Regions from separate parts of the Homo sapiens genome. Here regions 2 and 3 are each linked to region 1. Evidence: promoter capture Hi-C in 16 types of primary human blood cells and fetal thymus (Javierre and others, 2016). All regions are on one chromosome and are shown on one strand. The core of a region is centred on a gene start or on the middle of the fragment in contact, and the rest is flanking DNA. Distances in the headings are between cores, read along the strand shown.

Region 1 (4,696 bases), core at 797-3,296:
TTTTTTTTCAACAAATGACACTGGGATAACTGGATAGCAACATGTAAAAAATAAAGTTGGAGCCCTATTTCACATTTCACATCATATACAAAAATTAACCGAAAATGGATCATAGACCTAAATTTAGGAGCTAACATTATGAAACTCTTAGAAAAAAACATAAGCACAAATCTTTATGATGTTAGAGTAGGCCCTTCTTTCTTAGCTAAGAAATGAAAAGCACAAGCAACAAAAGGAAAAACAGATTAGATGAAGAAGATACAGAAATGGGCCAGGTGCAGAGGCTCATGCCTATAATCCCAACACTGGGAAGCCAAGGTGGCAGGATCACTTCAGGCCAGGAGTACAAGGCCAGAGCCTAGGCAACACGGACCCTATCGCTACAAAAAAAAAAAAAAAAGTAAAATTTAGCCGGGCATGGTGGCATGCACCTGTAGTCCCAGCTACTTGGGAGGCTGAAGTGGGATCACTTGAGACCAGGTGGTCAAGGCTGCAGTGAGCCGTAATCGAGCCACTGCACTCTGGCCTGGGTGGCATAGGGAAGCCGTGTCTCAAAAACACACACATACAAATGGCTGATAAGCACATGAAAAGATGTCAACATCATGAGCCATCAGGGAAATGGAAATCCAAACCACAATAATACACCACTTCATACCCATTAGGATGGGTAGAATCAAAAAGACAAATAACTGTTGACAGGCATGTGGATTACATCACCCAGAGGGGAAGAAAAAGAGAACAGAGGTAGGAGAAGGTACAAGACCACGACTTGAGAGACTCCAAATTTAACTGCCAGATAAAGGAAAATCAGCTTATAATGGATTCCAAGAAGCAGCCACCAGACAAGGAAAAAAATCCATGGGCCATGGAAGGCAAATGAAAAGGGCATCTCAAAAAAGTGGACATGGTCAATGCTGGTGAATGAAAATGAAAGGTTAAGTAAAATAAATGAAAATATCTCTTCGATTTAATGCTATGTAAAGCACAATGTTTCCATAACATGATAGTGGCAAATAGCTAAAACATTAGGCTACCTCTCTGCATTTTCTAACATGCAGAAATACGCACAGCACTCAAACATAAAAGGTTTAAAATAAATCAGTACCTTAATTATCTGCAATTAGTCTAAAGTCCTCTTGAAAGATGAGTCTGGAAAATAAAAATTGATTAGGAAAAGTAAGCACCCAAAAAGTTCACAAAACCACTGTAAGGATTCTTTACTTAAAAGGAATCAGACTCCATAAAAGACTGCTTTATACAGCAGGATTAATGATGCTCCATACTACTTGTAACTTCTTACTGATTACAACAGGTGTGCTGACATCTGCCGTGACGGTGATCCAGTGTCTGGCTTTAGTAATAAATGTTGTATTCAGCACCGCAACACGTCTGCATAGTGCGAGTAACCAACCACTACAAAACAGGATTAAGTCAATAAGGTAGATAGACATCCAGATCACGTTCCATCCGAAAGATAACTGTCGTCCCGAGATTCAGAAAAAGGTTTTATGAGCAAAGAAGAACGAAAAGTGAAAAAGCAAGACACCTGCTTTTCTCAATAACTTCTGCTTAAATTCTTAACATACTGATCTGGGAAAGCTATATAACTGCGAAAGCCTTGTCACATCTACAAATTCACTAAGGTATAAAGTGGGAGAACAAATGAAGTTAAACCTGACAATAAGGAACGAGGTGCCTAAAATACTCCTAACTGGAGAGCGGCACCTGAGGCCAACGACCCTATCCTCGCTCCTGGAAGCCCCATCTGCCTCCCAATTCCCCCATCCCAGCTGGCAAATCCCCTTTTAACTGCGAAACAAATTTGCAAACAGCCCAAGAAAAACTGAAACTGGAGAAACAAGGCTTGGCCATAAAAGGAGCTGTGGCCACACTCTGCCCCACATGGACCCATCGGCCACCCTTACCCAGAAGTCGGGAAGTAAAAACCAGTCCAAAGTGAGAAAATCAACCCGCCACTCTCCGGAAGCTGCACAGACTTTAGATGGAGAGCGCCATGACACATACGTCCCGCCACGTTTATTTGCGCATGCTCAGCGACGGTGGCCCGAAGAGATCAAATTACATCATTGCTGAAAGCGCTAGTTCTGGTTTAACTTAGTTTAGGAATGACTACGCTTCAAGTTCCTTTGATTCCAAGAACTAAAATAACAACCCTGAGTCCTCGGGTTCCTAGAAATGCTTAATAGCCAACTTCTCCTAAGCTTTTATGTGTTAGACACTGTGCTAAGTACTTTGCATAAATATTATTCACTATTTATTTATTATTATTATTATTCCCAGTTTACAAAAGAGGACACTGGAAGTTTAAGGACTTAATCTAAGTTACTCTACTAGTCGTGCTGCGCTCTGGGCTGGATCCGATGCTGTCTGACTCCCAAAGAACTTGCTCTTTTCACTGCATTTTACTAGCCTCCTCAATCATTTGTGAAAAGAGGTCTCTTCTTTAATATTAAAAAAACAGGAAGGAAAGGATAAAGGTCAGTTGGTAGGTTTCACTTAATATACATCATTGAGCACCACACAAGTGTTTTTGTTTTTTGTTTTGGAAAACTTAGATGGCAGTTTAGCAGACACCTATGGAAAGAAAATACTTTTATGGAGTACGGATTCTCACCCGCTTTCTCTACATATGTTATCTCACTTTACTATTCGTTACCCAAGACACTGTATTTGACCATGTGTTTACCAGAAGAATATCTTTACTTGAAAAAGTAAAGGTAATAGGAGGCAATAGGCCATGAAGAAGGGTCAGAAATCGTGAGTTTTATGCCTGACTTAGGGTTTCATAGTGATTTGGGGCAATTACTTTGTTTTGCAAATGCCTTTCCTAGTACAATTTCATCTAATTAAAATGCCATCCATCTACTCAAGAGGCTGATGTGGGAGGATCACTTGAGCTCAGAAGTTTGAAAACAGCCTGGGCAACACAGTGAGACCCAGTCTCTAAAATAGATTTAAAAAAAAAAAAAAAAACCACCCTTTTCTCTGTTTATCCATATCCATAAAATAATCTAAACTGTGCCCTGGGGTCCACTGTTGTCTTTACCCACCTAAATTAAAATTGTGTATTTATGTTGCCCTACTTTTTTTTTTTTTTTTTTTTTTTTTTTAGATAGGGTCTTCTTCTGTCACCCAGGCTGGAGTACAGTGTTACCATCACAGCTCACTGCAACCTCTCCCTCCTAGCCTCAAGAGATTCTCATGCCTTAGCCTCCCAAGTAGCTGGGACTACAGGTGCACACCACCATACCCATCTAATTCCATCTCTTTCACTAGACCAAAAGTAGGCCCTGGGTTATCTTCTTGGTTGTAATCGCACTACCTAGCACATAACCTTGTGCCTATGTTTATAGCTTCTCAATAAACATATGTTGAATGAATGAATGAATGAATGAATGACTCCACCCCTTTTCCCCCAAGATCTAGTTGAGTTCAGTAAAAGATATTTTACTGAGTATGTACCCCATGACCACAAGCACTGTGATAGATGCTAGAGCTAAAAAGAAAGAAAAAAAGTACTGCCTATTGCAATTGCAGGCTATTTTGAAAAAATTCATTTCAGTAGAGAATAGCAATCACTATGAAAGATGAATGCACAGGAACACAAAGGTGAAGTAAGGGAAATGGATGAAGGCATTCCAAGCTGGAGAGTCAGCCAGAGCAAAAGCAAGGAGGCCTGAAATGATGAATTATTCCACAGTGTAAAAGCAAAGAGAGTGAAGCTGGTGATGGGAGAAGTCTACCAGAGAAAGGGAAGCACAGGGACTAGATCAAGGTGAACCTTGTGTATTCAAAGGCATTAGACTTAATCCTGGATGTATGTAGTAGGCAACATGAATGTGTTCGAGCAGATTATTCTCTCAGGACAATGGGTTTGAGGACGATATTTCAGACATGAAGAAATAGTAAAAGCCTAAATTGAGTTGTTGGCTGGGAGGAATGGGAAGGAAGGACAGATTTAAACAAATTGAGGAGGTAACAGCAGCAAGACTTGGTGATTGATAGGTACGAAAAAAGAGGAAGAAAGGATGTTTTCAAGTTTTGGCTACAAAAACTAACTAACAGGTGAAACCTCTCTCTTTAAGCACCTTTAGTCTAAATCCTTTGAAGTCAGTAACCCTACCTCTAGGAATTTATCTTACAGAAATATACATAATGACCTATGTTCCAGAGTATTTTTTGAAGCATTGCTTACAATGACCTATGTTCCAGAGTATTTTTTGAAGCATTGCTTACAATGACCTATGTTCCAGAGTATTTTTTTAAGCATTGCTTACAATAGCAAAAGACTGGAAACCCTCTCCGGCTCCTCCTCAATAGAGTATTGGTTAAATATATTTATAGTATCTGTACAACCTTTGAAAAGCAACCAGTAAGTCCGGGTGCAGTGGATCACGCCTGTAATCCTAGCACTTTGGGAAGCCGAGGCGGGTGGATCGCCTGAGGCCAAGAGTTCAAGACCAGACTGACCAACATGGTGAAACCCTGTCTCTACTAAAAATACAAAATTAGCTGGGTGTGGTGGCATATGCCTGTAATCCCAGCTACTCAGGAGGCTGAGGCAGGAGAATCTCTTGAACCCAGGAGGTGGAGGTTGCAGTGAGCGGAGATTACACCATTGCACTCCAGCCTGGACAACAAGAGCGAAACTCCATCTCAAAAAGATTAAAAA
Region 2 (4,696 bases), core at 1,265-3,764, 2.8 Mb after region 1:
GATTATAAAATAGTAAACTTTAGTATAACTCAATAAAATGGTAAAGTGTAGCATAATATGTAGACAGAGATTGTTTTACAGTTTTGTATACTGACATACTAAATGCCAAGACTAGAAACCAACACATAAATATCTCAATAAATATTTGTGTTTTAATGAATTAATCTCAGTTAATTCATTAACTGTCTTAAATGTTAGGATGGGATTGCCTTCCTAAATTTGGTTATTATTTCATCCAATAAAACTGAGTTTCCATTCAAGATTGAATTTAAAATATGCCTTAAACTATAATGTAATGTACATAAACACATATATACCAAAGTCTAGTATACATTGATACATGTAGTCAGGAAGAGGAAATATATGGCATGTTGGAATCAAGTGATATATGTAGTTAATCAAAATTTGCTCATATTAGTTAATTTAGTCTTAAATATTACTTTATTCCCAATAGAGAGAGAACACAGTAAGTTAATGAGAATACAATGATTTACATCCTTAAATATCTTTCCGTTGTGTGGCCCTTCTTTCCCTAAAATACAAGCAAACAGGCAATAAATAAATAAATAAATAATAAATAAACCCAATAGCTTCATTTTCTTTATTTTTTTCTTTAGAGATGGGGTCTCACTCTGTTACCTAGGCTGGACTGCAGTGGTGAGATCATAGCTCGCTGCAGCCTTAGACTCCTGGGCTCAAGTGATCCTCCTGCCTCAGCCTCCCTAGTAGCTGGGACTACAGGTGCACACCACTAAGCTCAACTAATTTTTTCATTTCTTTGTAGAGAAGGGGTCTCGTTATGTTGCCCAGGCTGGTTTCAATCTCCTGGCCTCAAGTGATCCTCCTGCCTTGGCTTCCCAAAGTGCTGAGATTATGGGTGTGAGCCACATGCCTGACCAGGAATACACTTTAAAATAATAAAGTATGGTAGCAACAGGAAATGGCAAGGAGTGCCTGTTAAAAAAAAAAAAAAGGTATAGTAAATACATAAACCAGAAACAGCCACTTATCATTATGAAGTATTCTGTACTGTACATAATTGTACATACTCCACTTTTACACAAATGGCAACACAGTAGGTTTGTTTATACCAGCATCACCACAAACACGTGAGTAATGTGTTGCAATAAGACCTTAGGACAAAGACAGTATCACCAGGCAATACGAATTTTTCAGCTCTTTATGGGACCACCATTGTATATTGGGCCCATTGTTGATTGAAACATTGTTATGCTGTGCATGAGTGTGATAATTTGTTTTAATAGACATCACAGCAGATACCTCATTTTGTTTTGGTAAGGTGGAATAACTACATAAAATTTCGTAACTTCTTGTACTTGTCATCTTTAAACATTCTTTTGGCCAGAATTGTATTAGTACCTTCTGAAGAATGTATGATGGCTCTTTTTCAATCTAGGTTGGGTTTAGACTAAATTGTATTTCACTTTTAATTAGTGGATACTCCTTATCTATTAGAGATGGGTCAGCAGCCTATTTGCTAATTTATAATTGGCAGCTGGTTACATATATATATATACATATATATATATATTTGTTGTTTTAATTTTTTAATTTTTTTGATATGGAGTCTCACTCTGTGGCCCAGGCTGGAGTGCAGTGGCATGATCTCAGTTCACTGCAACCTCCACCTCCATGGTTCAAGCGATTCTCCTGCCTCAGCTTCCCGAGTGGCTGGGACTACAGGTGAGCACCACCACGCCCAGCTAATTTTTTTTTTTTTTTTTTTAAGTGGAGACAGGTTTCACCATGTTGGCCAGGCTGGTCTCGAACTCCTGACCTCCAGTGATCCACCCGCCTTGGCCTCCCAGAGTGCTGGGATTACAGGTGTGAGCCACTGTGCTCGGCCACTTTCTACTATATTATATGGGGAACAAAATAAAGAAGTTTCTTGGCAGAGGAGGACTATTGTAGCAACAAGCTTTTCATGAATTGCAGTGTCTCCCAATATGCCATTTATTTGGCTGAAAAAACTAGGTCCAGGTTGAATGCAGATTTCCTCCTGTCTCTTTATTCCTTCTCTGCTCTCAAGCCTGGCACGGCTTCCAATGACTCAATCACATGAATGTGAGATTAATGCATTATAGTTCCCTCAAATACTATTTTACTTCCAAGAAATAAAATAATTGTGGAAATGGGTAAAAAGTTGAGAGCATGGGTAAAAGGAATGTGGATTTTCCCATATCTCCTCAAGTTCTACCAATCTTCTATTTCTGAAGCATTGTCTACATTTGGCCCAATTCTTTCGCGTCTCTCTTCCTTTCAAAGGTTGGCTGTGAAGGGTGTCCAGCACATCAAAGAATAGCCTCCAAGAAAGGGGTGAGCTTTGATTCCAGTCAGTCCTCTGTTCTGTGGTGGAAACTCTGGGTCTCATAGAGTGAAGAGGGCAGATGGGATGTGGCTATGGTTTAATCTCCTCTACGTATAACCCAATTAAAGATTCAGGTACAGATCTTCCCTATGAGTTAGCTTATCGTGAATTACTTTACTTGGCTGTCAAATATCTAGCTATGGATTTGTGGAAGAATAGGATTTCTGCATAGGAGGAAGATAGCACCTGAGGGAAACAACTGTCTTTAAGAAAGATGAAGTGCTTCAGGAGGAAGAGGGGGCATACCTGGAGAATTTAGTGGGAAGTTAGTGGTGGGAGGAGGCATGAAGCTAGGATGAGACAGCGGAAAATAGATTAATTTTGTTTATCATATTTGGCAACTTGTCTTGATCTTGATGGTTATGGTCAGAGGTGCCACTGAAAGCCATTGATGTGTACACCTATGCTTGGTATAGCATAGTTTCTTTAGGCGCTGAAAGGTACAAGTTCAAAGGTACTAGAAGACTGGCTTTACAATTTCACTTGTATGATTTAAACAATGAACCTGAATTGTGCAGTTTGATTGTGGAGATAGTATAAATGTCTTGGAACTAATTATTTATATCTGATTGATGGTTGATATTGGATGCTTTCTATCTAAGCAGTTACTATGAACTAGATATACATTAATCCTTTCACCAGACCACTACCCTGTGAGGTCAATATTCGCTCTATTTGCTGATGAAAAAAACGAAGCTTAGAAACAGGATCAGTGGGCTGGGCGCGGTGGCTCACGCCTGTAATCCCAGCACTTTGGGAGGCCGTGGGCAGATCACCTGAGATTGAGAGTTCGAGACCAGCCTGACCAACATGGAGAAACCCCATCTCTAGTAAAAATACAAAATTAGCCGGCCGTCGTGGCACATGCCTGTAATCCCAGCTACTCGGGAGGCTGAGGCAGGAGAATCGCTTGAACCCAGGAGGTGGAGGTTGCTGAGATTGCGCCATTGCACTCCAGCCTGGGCAAAACAAGAGGAAAAAACTTCGTCTCAAAAAAAAAAAAAAAAGAAAGAAACAGGATCAGTAACTTCCCCAAGGCTACACAGCTAGTAAGTGGGAGATTTATAGTAAATAGGCTGGGCGTGGCGGCTCACACGGGTAATCCCAGCACTTTGGGAGGCCAAGGCGGGTGGATCACTTGAGGTCAGGAGTTCAAGGCCAGCCTGGCCAACATGGCGAAACCCCATCTCTACTAAAAATACACAAATCAGCTGGGCGTGGTGGTGCACGCCTGTAGTCCCAGCTACTTAGGAAGCCGAGGCAGGAGAATAGCTTGAACCTGGGAGGCAAAGGGTGCAGTGAGCCAAGATCGCGCCACTGCACTCCAGCCTGGGCGACAGGGCAAGACTCTGTCTCTCAGAAAAAAAGAAAGAAAGAAAGAAAGAAAAAAAAAGATTTATAGTAAGTCTAAGATTTTTCACAACATATTTTTCCTCCCTAATCATTTGGCTATTTGTCTTTAGCTCTTACAGAAAAGTTGGGTTATAGTCCTGGCTTTGATTACCCATCTCAGTGTCATTGATTGTGCCACCTAAATTTCTCTGGACATCTTGTCTGGTTGGTTGAATGAGAGGGTTGGACTATGTGATCACCAGGACCTTTCTAATCGTCAACTCCTAGAATATACATTTTGTGGATTCAGTCTTTGAGTCTAGCTCACTTACTCAGTTTCCTAAATATTTGGAGCAAATATAGTATACTTTTATTGTTAAGGATATATCACTTACCCCTAATGTTAGCTGACTGCATGGGTTATAATTGTAATCATTCATCGCATTTTTCGTCTATTAGCAAATATACATGCTCTCCATAGATGATCACGTCTGCTCCTCACAACAGCTTTATAAGGTGGATTTTAAAGCTCCCATTTTATGGAGGAGGAAGCTAAGGCTCAGACGGTTTTGATTCATCCAAGGTCAAATAGGTTGGGTGGCAGAACCAGAATTCCAGCCCCGTGTGTCTGCAACAAAACCTTTATATGTTTAAAGAAACATTAATGAAGCCGTATATATTTTCTAATTCTAAGGATCATGGACTTTATTTTTCAACCACAGATTTTTTTTTCCTCCTTCTTAAATCATTAGCTCTTGTCTTTGATTTTACTGTCTGCTTACTTCCTGCCTACTTAACCAACCGACAGGGAGAAGGAGAATGGGAAGAGGTTACTGTTTTTATGTTAAGTGTCTTTTCAAAGTCTAATTTACAGCCAAGAACAGCAAAAGTACCCCTTGGCTTTGTGCCTCTGCGGCGCCCCGGAGATCTCCTTCCCCGTCCCTCTTCCTTTCCGAGAAGCCGCGTTCCGTTGTT
Region 3 (4,696 bases), core at 1,621-4,120, 2.4 Mb before region 1:
GTGGAAATGTCATTCATCATGATGGACACAGAGGGATTGGACAGATTTAGAGAAGAAGGTGCTGTCTTCATATTTTCATCTATTTAGACAGATTTATATGTAAACTCCTGCAAAGGAAGATTAGTTGACAGCAAAACATATTTATCTGTTGCACAGAAGAGAGGTGTGGATTAGAAATGCAGATTTGGGAATTATAAAAATAGTTGCAGCCATAAGAGACATAGTTTTACTTAAGAAAGTAAATGGAATAGTACAAAAATAAAGACTGGTGATGGAATTGTGAGGAACACAAACACTTAACAGATAGAGATGGGAACCTGCTGAGGACTGTCAAGAACACTTACAAGAATATCAGAACAAAATGGTGTCCCTGATACCAAAGGAGGAAGAGGAGTTACAAGGAGGAAGAGGAGTTCTCCAAAACAATGTTAGCAGAGAAGTGAGTGGGTTGGAGAAATAAACATGTTATTTGATGGAAGCATCTGGAAAGTAATTGATAATTTTGGTAAAGCAGTGTCAGGGTGGGATGTGCAGAATTATATGTTCCTAGTAAAGGTGCTGAAGTGTGGAGGCAGAGACAGGGAACTGGGAGTAAAGGTTGCTTTTGATAGAAGTTTGGCAGAGTAATGGTTCAAGGGAGATGTGTAGCCGAGTAAGTTTTTTAGTTTCTGTTTCTGTTTTTCTTTTGGTTCTTAGATTTAGAAGATTTGAACATATTTGCCTGCTGACATGAAAAGGCTATGTCAGAAAAGTGGACAACTTTTGGAGCAGACAAGGAGTGGAGTAGGGGCTTTGAAAGGAGGGTTAACTGTCTGAGATAGGTGATGTAATGAAGGAAGAAAGGAACTGATGAGGGAAGGATCACTGGTTGGCATTCCCAATCCAGGTAAGATGGCTTTGTAATGGTGACACCAACTTTTAGGTCAGGCTGGAACTCAGATCTCATTTGTTTACTTTGGGATCTCATAGAGAAAGTGCAATAAAGCAACATTATTTGCAAGCTATGAGACCCCTGAGATGCTTAAGGAAGGTTGTTTAGCTGAAACAGCTTTGAGGAACAGAAGCCACATCATGTAGCAGAGTTAACACCCTGGGATAAGAGGCTAAGAATTTAGGCATTGCTCTCGTGGAGGAAATCAGATCTCCTCCACAGCGTAAACTCCCATGAGTGATCCCAGAAGTGCTATGGCTGGGCATACTCAGGATGGAACTTCCTAACCCATAAGGCGCACAAGCCTTTTTTTGGCAAATACCAGTTGTTCCTACCTCAGACGGATTTCTTCACTTTGCAAAGTCACCAGGTCTCATCTCCAATGAGCTGTTTAGAGGCATGACATTTATTCTTCAGTGCCATTCAACCTAGTAGTAAGTTTAAATTTGAGTGATTATAAAACTATCCCAATCACTTGTGCTCTTGTCTCATTGTATGCCTGTTTCTCAGTTTGAGAAGTCTGGATGTTCAGCTCTACTAGATGCATGCTTTGCTTTCTATTATTGTTATATTTCAGATTCAAATTCTTGCCAAGTTTTTCTAAATACATTTATGAAATGTATTGCATCCACCTTTTTTGATTCCAGCAAAGGCAGCATCCTTTATAAGAACACCAAAGGCGTAGGGAAGGCCTAGTTTAGAGTCCCAGTTCGACCACATATTAACATGTATCATCTAGCCAGCCACTTTACCCCTCCAGCCTTGGATTTCTTCCTTATATAAAAAAGAAGGTGTGACTAGACCTCATTATATCAGCCAGCTCTAAAATCCTTTATAAGATAGAAATTTTACTTTGTCATGGTCAACTTAAAGTAAAGTATTGAAAGTCAAACAGCTAAGAACACCTGCAAACAGGGTAGGTGGCAGTCCATGCCCATGTATTCTAGGAGCCTAATACTGACACCAGAGTTTTACACTGCAGCAGCGTAATCGTTCCTACCAGCATGTTCCATTAAAGCTTGACTTACTGCCAGGGAATTCACCTGCTGACACAGTAAAACTCCTAACTGGAAGCATTAACATTGCAATGTCAGATGGTGGAGGTGGGGAAACATGCTCATAAATTCCACAGACGTGCACTGCTTTATTTGGGGTCCTGGTTGCAAACTCATTATTTATGCTGTGTACAGTAGGCCATCAACATATCCCACTGGGAAATTAGTTTGCAATTTAGATTCGTTTCAAAGTACAAGTGATTCTCAAGTCATTTTCCAAGGTTAAATGAGAACTCTTATTGCTTTCCGTGGGCTCAGAGGGAATTTTTACTCCGTGTGTTCCCTCCTCCCCCAGCTTCTGCTAGACTGTCTTGATTTTTCTTTCTTAAGTGCACTTTGTGCTAAATCTCCTTTTTTCAATTTTTGAAAGCTGGTAAATGGAATGGTATTTGTTGCATTTTCTTGCTTGCTGGGACTGCTTAAGTACCTCACTTTTTATTATTGCTGTTATTCTTAGAAGAGTCCTGAGAGGTTTCCATGTTCCTTACAAACAGGATTGCTTGGCTAACTAACACAGGAATGATTTTCAAAGATGGGGTGACATCCACTTTAGGGTGCAGTGAATCACAGGCATCATTTCACTCTCATGCCAACCTTCCCACTCCAGGGGCCATGCCATTGGGCAAGGATTCAGGTGGGCTAGCTGAAAGCAGGAGTGAGCTTGGCAACTCCAGGCAATGTAAATTAGGGGTTCAACATTTATTACAGAATTCCAAGTCCTTAAGCACAAAACAAATTAAGAAAAAACAGGGTTCCATTAATTCTGTCAGATTTCCCAAACCCCTTGGTTGCTTGATTCTCTCCTTTAGAACATCATTAAAGGTTTTTTTTAGACTTTATTTTACTGGTAAAATGTGGACATGTCCCCTCATCTTTTTCCAACCTGGGAAAATTGCCTCAAACCACCTGGCAGATAATTTATAACCTGATATTATTCTTGCAGAATAGATGCCATTATTTTACCCCATATCATTCCTAAGTAGTAGAAAATAATCCATGATATAAAGATCTTGAAGGATTTCATTTCTTTTCCTCTTTTCTCATTAAGTGTTTAAAATGCCAAGGTCTGATATAATTAGATATAATAAGCCAAAGTTCAGATAGAAAACAAACCAAATTTGGTAAGCCACATTAAGTCTCCCTTCTCCCTCAGCAACAAGAAGCTCTAAGGTTTTTCTGAAACCAAAGTTTCAACATCTCTCTAATGCATTAGGAGAGTGTTTTCACAGGCACAGACCAGAAAGTATACACACCGAGGAGATTAAGTGTTTACTTTCAAAATGTTTGAAATTGCTAGCTTAAACACAGAAACTACGCACAAAGAGTGCAGAGAAACAATGAAAGGAAGATATCAACAGAGTAAATACCACCTAAAAATACTAACAGTCTTAAAGGTCAGAAATCCTTAGTTAAACAAAAAGACTCATCCATTAGAAACAATCAATTACAAGATAACCTGAGAATGTCATCACACTATGAGTTTCCTTTCAAAGCAGAAATTATTCAGCTAAAAGCTATTAGCTTTGTACTCTATAGGTTACTAACCAGAGCGGGTTACAAACAGAAACTGAAACCAAAAGAAAAAGAAACAGAAAAATAAGTACATTTAGAACTGCTTAATATTGAACTTCTAAGGTGTAGGAAGGCTTTTATCCTGTGGATATTTCAGTCCGTATCTCTATGTGTTCTTTGATGCTGTGTGGATGGAAAACAAAACTATTCCCTAGATTCGATATTCTCAGTTTGTCATTTTAGTTGAAATTGGATTAAAATGTTTTCCTTGATTGCAGATTATTCAAGCTTTTTTTTTACTACTATTTAAATATGAACATACTTCAAATATAATCCTCCGCCCCTTCAAGGTTTGAAAGAAACAGGTGTTGATTTGGTTTGCTAGTGTTTCTGGTATCTTTTTATTTTTTAAATTTTTTTGTACTATATTTTGTTCATCTTGGCCTTTGCTGGGTAAAATAATAGGTTAGACAGGTATGATACTTTAAATAGAGAATCTTAACATCTGTGAATCTTTAAGAACACTCAAGCAGATGGTACTTATAAGGCGAGTCAAATTCTTTCAATGTTTCTCGTGTCTCCAACAATTATTTTTCCTAGACTTTCATATTGTAAATTTTAATTCTAGATAGCATACTAATTATTTATTATGAAAGCCCCAAATCATCTCCTAGATCTGGAGAGTGGCTGAATCTGTTAAAACTTCCCCGCTCTCAGGAACATATTATTATATTATTAAGGCAAATTAAAAGATTTCTGGGTTTTTAATGTTTCAAGAGATAATACATATTTCATTAATAACACTTTCCCACAATGTGATTAAAACCAAGCAGGGGGATATGCTCTTGTGACTTTACCTGGCATGAACCTGGCCTGATAGACAGTGCCTTCACGTTAAATAAGGGTCACATAACATATACAACCTTTAGATACCTATTTTTTCTTTATTATCTGCCAAGCATTATTCTAAAACAGAAAATGCAATGCTAACACCCAAGAGGTTTTCTGAAGGAGTCTCACCTGTTGACTTTGTCCCAGCACACGCTCCAACATATTTCTCACAGGCAGCTTTCCATTCTCATATATGCTATTTGAACGAGGGAAGAATTAATCCCCCAGAAATCAGATTCTACTTCTAGCTTCTCAAAGTTGTAATCGACTTTGGCTCTGTAATGAAAACTTCCTTGGAAGATCTATG

The links. Contacts are between HindIII fragments. The CHiCAGO score rates a contact against its expected background, and 5 or more counts as called.
Region 2: a contact is called between a fragment that was not itself captured here and the fragment with the promoter of CDKAL1 in region 1, in 1 of 17 cell types (non-activated CD4 T cells). The highest score is 6.1, in non-activated CD4 T cells.
Region 3: a contact is called between a fragment that was not itself captured here and the fragment with the promoter of CDKAL1 in region 1, in 1 of 17 cell types (fetal thymus). The highest score is 9.0, in fetal thymus.

What each region holds. Positions count from the first base shown.
Region 1 is chr6:20,531,807-20,536,502 of GRCh38, reverse strand. CDKAL1 (CDKAL1 threonylcarbamoyladenosine tRNA methylthiotransferase) reads right to left here and starts at 2,046. Exons shown (of 16, transcript NM_017774.3): 1 at 1,929-2,046; 2 at 1,109-1,152. RefSeq lists enhancers at 1,848-1,927, 1,958-2,117. The HindIII fragment of the contact is 2,844 bases long and covers 1-2,227 here.
Region 2 is chr6:17,707,047-17,711,742 of GRCh38, reverse strand. It overlaps NUP153-AS1 (NUP153 antisense RNA 1), which reads right to left. Exons shown (of 3, transcript NR_134618.1): 1 at 4,615-4,696; 2 at 4,117-4,349; 3 at 716-954. Among named protein-coding and RNA genes, the nearest start is that of NUP153-AS1, 2.4 kb to the right of the region's middle. RefSeq lists an enhancer at 4,627-4,696. The HindIII fragment of the contact is 1,146 bases long and covers 1,942-3,087 here.
Region 3 is chr6:22,953,772-22,958,467 of GRCh38, reverse strand. No RefSeq gene overlaps it. Among named protein-coding and RNA genes, the nearest start is that of LINC03005, 240 kb to the right of the region's middle. The HindIII fragment of the contact is 1,837 bases long and covers 1,952-3,788 here.